Regions from separate parts of the Homo sapiens genome. Here all the other regions are linked to region 1. Evidence: promoter capture Hi-C in 16 types of primary human blood cells and fetal thymus (Javierre and others, 2016). All regions are on one chromosome and are shown on one strand. The core of a region is centred on a gene start or on the middle of the fragment in contact, and the rest is flanking DNA. Distances in the headings are between cores, read along the strand shown. Region 1 holds the start of SHISA2 (shisa family member 2). Region 2 overlaps ATP8A2 (ATPase phospholipid transporting 8A2). Region 3 overlaps ATP8A2 (ATPase phospholipid transporting 8A2).

What was found. The method cuts DNA at HindIII sites, captures the fragments that hold promoters and counts their contacts. A CHiCAGO score of 5 or more calls a contact.
Region 2: a fragment that was not itself captured here is called in contact with the fragment with the promoter of SHISA2 in region 1 in 6 of 17 cell types (naive CD4 T cells, activated CD4 T cells, non-activated CD4 T cells and 3 more); the score reaches 7.6 in naive CD4 T cells.
Region 3: a contact is called between a fragment that was not itself captured here and the fragment with the promoter of SHISA2 in region 1, in 4 of 17 cell types (activated CD4 T cells, naive CD4 T cells, non-activated CD4 T cells and 1 more). The highest score is 6.4, in activated CD4 T cells.

The regions. Positions count from the first base shown.
Region 1 is chr13:26,050,766-26,053,465 of GRCh38, forward strand. SHISA2 (shisa family member 2) reads right to left here and starts at 1,251. Exons shown (of 2, transcript NM_001007538.2): 1 at 1-1,251. The coding sequence starts at 210. LINC00415 (long intergenic non-protein coding RNA 415) reads right to left here. Exons shown (of 2, transcript NR_146971.1): 2 at 1,511-1,907. The HindIII fragment of the contact is 15,847 bases long and covers 1-2,700 here.
Region 2 is chr13:25,878,412-25,881,111 of GRCh38, forward strand. The region is part of intron 33 of ATP8A2 (ATPase phospholipid transporting 8A2); the gene reads left to right. Among named protein-coding and RNA genes, the nearest start is that of SHISA2, 170 kb to the right of the region's middle. The HindIII fragment of the contact is 5,179 bases long and covers 1-2,700 here.
Region 3 is chr13:25,857,861-25,860,560 of GRCh38, forward strand. ATP8A2 (ATPase phospholipid transporting 8A2) reads left to right here. Exons shown (of 37, transcript NM_016529.6): 31 at 2,335-2,396. Among named protein-coding and RNA genes, the nearest start is that of SHISA2, 190 kb to the right of the region's middle. The HindIII fragment of the contact is 1,622 bases long and covers 503-2,124 here.

The DNA of each region.
Region 1 (2,700 bases), core at 1-2,500:
GCAGCTGCCGCAGCAGATGGTGGCGTCGCCGCCGTCGAAGCGCTCGGGACACTGGAAGCCGATGCGCCAGACGCCCTGCGCGTCCAGCCAGCCGTGGCAGTACTCGCCGCTGGCCCTCGCCCCCGCCGCCAGCAGCGCAGCCAGCAGCAGCTGCAGGAGCGAAGCGGCGTTCCAGGATGAGGAGACGGACGAGCGGCGAGCGCCCCACATGGCACCACCCTGGGCGCGGACAGCGCGTCTCCAGAGAGCGCAGGACGGTCTCCGAGAAGTCGTGGCCCCGGCGACCCCCGGGCCTCGTCACTGACTGTCCCGCGGCGCTTTCCGCGCGGGCCACTCCCCTCTGCCGCGACGCCCAGGAGGCGACGACGCCGGGCCCTAGGTCCAGGAGCTCCTAAGCCATCCCCGTCCTCAGCCGGTGGCCCGGTCCCCTTAGGGACTGCCTTATGAGTTGCACTCGCTGATGGAAATCTCGGGATGCAGTCAGAAGGCCCCCGGGGCTGTCGTCCGGAAGCCTCTGGAGGTTTCACTGGCAACCGGACCCTCCCTGAGCATCCCCGAAGGGATGCTCACTCGAGCCGAATGACCGCTGGGCGCGCCGCCGCGGACCTGGAGCCAGGGCTCTGCGCAGGGTTTAAGCCTCAGGGTCCCGCGCGCGAATCAGGGCCCGTCTCCCCTCCTTTATTCCCTCCTCGGGCGGGTAGAAGGGGCGAAGGCGGGCAGTGCACGCAAGGCTCTGGGCAGCAAGTGACGCAGCCGGCCGCGCTCAGCCTCCTCTGCCCCGAACTTGGTCCGCATGGCTCCGGCCGGGCCGCCCGGGCAGCCCACGGGGGTGCAGCCCCGACGCTCCACTCGGCGGGGCCGACGGCCAATCTTCCCAGCACGTCGCCGAGGGAGCGCTCCTGACCCCGGGAACGTCCAGGACGCAGGCGAGGGTCCTGCGCGCCCCCAGCCGCAGTCCCGGGAGCCTGCCCAGCTGGCGGCGGCCGCGGCTGCTGCTGGGCGCGGATCCAGGCGGGCGGCTCGCCCCGGTTCCCCTTCTCCGCCTCCCCGGCTGCAGCGCGGTCCCACAGGAGCCCGGCAGCCTCCGGCCGGCTCTCCCTCTCCCGGTCGCTGCCTCGCCCTCGGGAGGTGTGCGCACCGATGGAAGCCTCCCACGGAAGTTTCTTTCCTCCGGGCTACGGGAGAAGCCGAGCGCAGCAGCCGCCCACAGCCTCGCCTCGCCCCGCCCGGCGCCAGACCAGCTCCGACTCCGCTCGCTGCCGCGCTGAGCCGCGCTCTTATAGAGGCCGGCGGCTCCCCGGCGCGCATGCGCGCTGCGCGGCTCCCCCCCACCCCCGACCTCAGGGACGCCCGCGGGCGCCGGGCAGCCCCTCACTTTCCTACCCCGGGCAAGGAGAAAGGTGTGGCCAAGGGCGGGGTCTGCCTGCTGGAATAGGCGCGGGAGGAAACCCAACCTAAGCAATCCAGGCCTCGCTAACACAAATAACAATAATAACGGAAGAAACTCAACTTGCTTTGTGAAGATCTTTGGCATTCAACATTCGGTTCGATTCTGCAAACTTCTCAAGGGATTATGATTACTTTCCACTCTGCAGATCATAAAATCGCCACTCAGATGAACTCTCTCGGCTTCCAGCAGCTGATGTCCTGGCCACGGTTGGTCCCAGGCCCTGTGCAGGAAGAGCACCGATGTTTGTGGCAGGGTTCACACGCCTAGGGCTGTGTTTGGTGGACTGGAGGCCTCCACCACAAGGTGGAACGGAGAGAGTTCAGCAAAGATGTCACACATTCGGCCACGGTGTGGATGATCTGTGTCCCTTTTTCTTTCTATATTTGGGTGTGGTGATTTATCGGATTCCAGCAGGAAAGTGCCTCCGTCCAACATGTGGCCTTAGTGGTTTAGACAGCTGCAGTCAGGAAGAAAACAAGGTTCAGACAGACCAGAAATTCAGCTTTGATGAAGGAGAAATTAATAGCTTCTCTCTTGCAGAAGCTGGAACAACAGGTGCTGATGTTATTAAAGCAGCAGTGCTTATTTTTAAAGGAACGAATGCCCCTTCCCACACCGTCTGGGAGTCAGCAGACCTGAATTCTAGACCCAGCCCTACTAGCAGGGAATCACTGCGTTTTTCTGGTCTCAGTTTCTTCATCTATAAAGTGGAGCATAGGATGTGACGATCACTAAGGTCCCTTTCAAGTCCATGACTTCAGAACACAGGCAGTTTTATTCACAGCAAAGACACTCAGGTTCAAGCAGCCATTGGATGCTTGTGTATGCCTGGTTAATGTGAAGATTCAGACATTGTTGATTATTCTTCCACTTGCCCCAACAATGTCAAATCCAAGAAAAAAAACCCTACCCTATGTCCCTGCTCCCCAACACACACCTTATTCTTTTCACTAAACCTCTCTCCAAGCATTGCACTTTGTTTTCTTGCAGTTTTTTGGTTGTGTATCGTTTTAAGCTACACAAAATTATATACTTTAAATGCACTATTCACCAAATGTCTTAAGCTAGTAAGCTAAAAAAAATTTCAATGTCAAGAAATCATTCATTCAAGAAATACACGCCATGCACTTACAGTGTACTGTGCTCTGTGCTGGGTACTGGGACTCATCAAGAAGCCAGACAGCATGGCCATTTCCTTCAAATAGGGCCTAAAGTCTCCAGGGTAAAATACAGAAATCAGACAAAAAGAC
Region 2 (2,700 bases), core at 73-2,572, 170 kb before region 1:
CATAGAGTAAAGTGAAAGCAAGTTTTTTAAGAAAGTAGAGGAATAAAAGAATGACTATTCCATAGGCAGAGCTGGTGGGAGTGTAGCAGTGAGAATGAACAGAGGTCGTACCTGTCACCATCTTGGTTTGGTGGGTTTTGGCTGGCTTCTTTATTGCAACCTGTTTTATCAGCAAGGTCTTTATGACCTGTATTTTGTGCCAACCTTGTATCTCATCCTGTGACTTAGAATGCCTTAATTGTCTGGGAATGCAAGCCCAGTAGGTCTCAGCTTCATTTTACCCAGCCCCTATTCAAGATGGAGTTGCTGTGGTTCAAACGCCTCTGACAACCAGTACCTCAGGCTCTCAACTCTCTGAAGCACAGTTCCTGCCTTCCCATCGCCCCAGCACCTTCCACTCACTCTGTCTCCACTCACGTCCATCACCACTTCCCCAGGCACAGGAGCTTAAAACCATCAGCTGCCTTCCCACTCTCTCTCCCTCATCCCTCACATCCAGAGCAGGGTCATGAGTGTTCACTCCTGCAGCTGTGTCGTTTGTGTGTCCCAGCATTTATAGCATTCTACCACCGGTCTCCTTGCAGATCACCATGCGATTTGCTCCCAGAGGGCACAAGCCATGTGCACACATACTTGGTCTATGGGGCATGTGGACGGGGCAGGAGAGCAGAGGGCATTTGGCTCTGAGGACAAGAATTTAAGTCAACTCAAAGAATCAGGACTTTGTGTATCTTCTTTTGTTGTGGTTTATTCCCACAAAAGCGTATCTTAAACTCTCATTCTCTGCTAGTGACTCTTTTTGAGAAATGCTTTATCGAGCACCTGGGACAATATCTCCAGTGGTGTCACTAATTGAAGGTGGCTACTGAGAGGGACAGCAGGAGGCTCTCTTGGCCACTGGCCTTGACCTTAGAAGTTCAGGGCTGTAACCTAAACATGCTAAACTTTATTAAATATGCCAGCCAGGATCTTTGGTTACAATGAAGGAAAAAAATGGACGTTACTTAATAAACAGAAAAAGAATGCATAGACAGTTATCATGCAATCCATAGAATATATGAAAAAGCCGAAGAACCAGGCTGAGAAAGCTGGTAGAAGCCAAGGAGGCTACTTCGGACCACCTGATCAAGACCCAACCCTAGCACTGCCACCACTGGATGTGCACCTCTGCTGGCGATGGATTCTGGACTCCACCCTCCAAGTAATCTTTGAGGTGGCCAGTGCTGGCAGGCGCATCTGATGGACAAGCCCAGGTCTCCCACTGTGCACCAGCTGTTTCCTTTCTGCAGTGGTTCTTCAAGCAGATTTATGCAAACAGCCCCAAATGTGTTTTAGGACAGTCCTGGCGATACCCACATTCTCCTGCAAATAATAGGAGGAAAATGTCTTTTTCATTTGGCTTCCATAGGGGAAAGAGTTAGGAGGAAAATCCTAGACTTTTTCTTGAATATCTTCTCCCAGTGAGAAGACATATTTGCCTAACTCAATCGATAATTGATTAAGTTTAAGAAATTAAACTTTTTTGAAAATTCAGTAATGCACACAGACAAAGCAAGAGTTTTTCCCGTGAGAAAAATAAGGCAGACCTGAGCTTGATACACTTTAAAAAGGTAGGTGGTGAAGAAGAGGTGGCCTCCTAGACAAAGCCACAGCGGCGTAGGCCTGTCCATGGAGTGGCCTGTCCATGGGGTACTGTTTTGGGCACAGTGACAGCAAGGAATAATCAGTTATCAGATAATCCTAAGATCAGAAATTGACTACATGTAATCATACATAATTCGTCAGTGTCTAAAGCAATTTGAATAACAATTTTCCTTTCCCTCACGCTTCCAAGAAAATCCAGCGGCTAATCCATAGATGGCTATCTCTTGGCAAACTTTGCTTTTTGTGAAGTAGCCACATGTCCCATCAGATTAAAAAGTGTAATTTCTTTGTTTTCACAGGATACTGTCCAGTCAGGAACAACAAAAAAAAAAAAAAAAAAGGAAGAGGGGAAAAATGTGATTAGTATTATGTCATTTTATTAATGAAGGCACTGGTAGTTTCACACTTAAGTAAATCAGTTATTACAAGCAAGGAAAGTTGCTCTCCAGCCATAATCCTGACAGGCCTCAGGGGTATTGAAAGGTTCCAGATGACTTTTGTTTTTGCAGCAGAATTTAGGCATTGTGAACTTCTTTCTAGAACACAGGTCAGTTCATATAAATCTGCTGGAAGAACCTTTACAATAAGGAAATGGTATTGATAAGCTACCATTTTTCCATTCCCAGGAGCTACTATTTATTGTTACAAGTTACGTTCCCCTAAATGAAAAAGGCAACCTCACCTATCCCTTCATGCCCCCAAAGCTATTCAGCATAAGTTAATCTTTTCAACAGAAGCAGCCAACTTTTCTAGCAAAGGAATTTGCAGTCTTTGTGGTTTGGGTAAAAAGGTGGCTCATTTTACCAGTTTCTTGATGAAATATGTTTCATGATAAATTCAATCTTTCCTCAGAAAAATTCCCCAAATCTACTTTTCTGTGCAAAATTCAGCATGAAAGCCTTTCTCTGTTGAAGCAGCCAAAGATTGAGTTTGTGTAGACCTGGGCAAACAGTTTCAGGTCCAAGGTTAAGGATATTTATTGCTGGAGGTATTACATGTATTCGTATCCAGGAAGAACAAAATTCAACACCTTGACACTGGTTTTCAAATATATTA
Region 3 (2,700 bases), core at 64-2,563, 190 kb before region 1:
GCACCCAGCAGCTAATGTATTTCTTCATAGCACTTATTACACCTGACATTTTATCGTGTATCTGTTTAAGGTTTTATGTCCTGTCTCCTCACTAGACCACAAGCTGTATAAAAACAGGGACCTTCTCTTCCCGGTTTTCATAATAGTGCCTGGCATAAAATAGGCTGTAAGTAAATATTTGTTGAGTACATAAAAGAAGAATCTTATTCATTTCAAGGCTATAATCTATGTTAGAATCAAAGAGATGGTCTCCATACTAAACTGAAGTATTTCTTCATTGAGGCAGGCATTTAAAAGTGTTGCACCTGTTAGTAAAACAGTCTTAAGGCCAGTTCCTGAAAAGTGAACTCCTACAATTTTGAGTAACTATTTGCTAATACATCAGCATGTTGCCTTCTTGGGATTAATTCAGCCTTTCTTTTACTTTTTTAACTTGCTCCCTTCCTTCCCTTTTAATGAAGTCATGCCTAAGCTCCAGTCTGTCCTTGTCCCCTCTCCCCTAAGCTTTGAGACCGTTCCTTTTTAAGTCAGTGGCCATGTCTCGCCCCGTTCTCCCGATATAACTCTTACTTTACCCAGCAGCGGGGCCTCCGTTTAGTGCAGCCCGTGATGTTGCTTTCCTGGTTCATCTTCCCTTATCCACAGATTTACCTGGCTGGAATCGGGAGACTGTGTGTGCCCAGGGGCTGGATTCGGAGACCCATGCTTCTGCAGTTCCACTTATGACTCCATCATTATGCTGTTTTAGGAAAATAAATAGATATTGATTCTCTAATAAGAGTGGGATTGTTCAACAAGCATTGGGAAAATCTGCGAGCCCAGATATGTATGTATAGCAGCTACTGGTTGGAAATTTGAACACAAGCATCCTTATCTACCCAGCCTGCGGGCCACAGACCAGAACTGAGTATAAAAAAAGAATAAAACCAAATGCCACATGTTGTCTCTTATAAGTCAGAACTCAACATTGAGTACACATGAACATAAAGAAGAGAACAATAGATGCCGGAGAACTTGACAAGAGAGGGAGAGAGGAAAGGCTTGAAAAACTACCCATTGGGATGCCAGGCACGGTGGCTCACGCCTGTAATCCCAGCACTTTGGGAGCCTGAGGCGGGTGGATCATGAGGTCAGGAGTTCGAGACCAGCCTGGTTAAGATGGTAAAACCCTGTCTCTACTAAAAATACAAAAATTAGCCAGGCATGGTGGCGGGCACCTGTAATCCCAGCTACTTGGGAGGCTGAGGCAGAGAATTGCTTGAATCCAGGAGGCAGAGGTTGCAGTGACCCGAGATTGTACCACTGCATTCCAGCCTGGGCGACAGACCGAGACTCTGTCTCAAAAACAAAACAAAACAAAACAAAACAAAAACAAAAAAAAACACTACCCATTGGGTACTATGCTTACTACCTGGGTGTCAGAGTCATTTGTACTCCAGACCTCAGCATCACACAGTATACCTTTGTAACAAACCTGCGCATGTACCCCAAAATCTAAAACAAAAGTTGGAAGAAGTTGAAAGAAATAAGAATAAAGGAAGGTTGGCAGTGTCATCCAAGGAAACTAAGCCTGATATTAAAATAGGCTCTGACCACTCAGGATAAAAAACAGACTTCTCTGTGCAGGTGTAGCGGAGATGATGAAACAACTCTATTAGCATTCTGCCTTAGTGGTTGTTATAGTCATAGCCATCCTTGAAAAGAAAAAAAAAAAAAGGAAAATATAGGAAAACTGAGGCTTAAAATCCTTCTTCTATTTTCTAAACTTCTGTCATTGGAGTGCTTGCGTTCCCCCAGGTGATAGACTCCGGAAGCTCATACAGTTGCAGATGAGAACATGAGTAATAAATACCCCCAAAATTCTTTCCAAGTTCAGTCATGATGAATTGGTTTAATATGCATGTAGTTATCTTTTTATTGGTCCATAATTCCAATTTAGCAAAATGTAAAGATGAATCATAAAGAATACCTGGAAAAAGCCCCAACATCGATGGCACTTAATAAAGATAGATGAGTATGTTCTTACTCCTTTTTTTAAAACAAACTGGACAAAGATAAATTTTAATGTTTACAAAAATGTAAATTTCAGTGCAGATCAAGCGTTTGGTTGGTTGGTTGGTTGGAAGCTTGACTTTATTTGCTTCATTTGGAGAGAATATAAGATGAAAAAGTTCATCATTAGAAAGAGAAGTAAGCATTAGAGTCACAGGATGGGATTTTGAAATACTCTGTGAGTTGATTGATGTTCCTAAAGTTCCCTGTTTAATGCTCTGAGTTAAATAGGTGGCCATGCTCAGCTTCTTGGATGTTAATAGTAACTTCTTTGTTTTTCAGATACTGTGTTGACAAGTGGTCATGCTACCGACTATTTATTTGTTGGAAATATTGTTTACACAGTAAGTTTATCTCTGTTTATTAAGCCATTCTTAAACAGCTTATGTGTGGCTTGCACTTCTCTAAACCCTTAAAAAGGGCCTTCCTCATTATTATTATTTATTTCAAATCTTCAAAATGTATTTTATATATCCTTCAAAGTTCAGAATGGTTGTGAAATGCTTACATCATCGTTTCTGAAGGTTATGCCAAGTGAAGGTTTCTGGGCAGGTGGTTAACAGATTTCCCCATTCTTCAAATGACCATTTTACACCTACCTGCAAAGGAAAACAACACTCAGGAAGGTGGTATCTCCCAAGCTAAGAA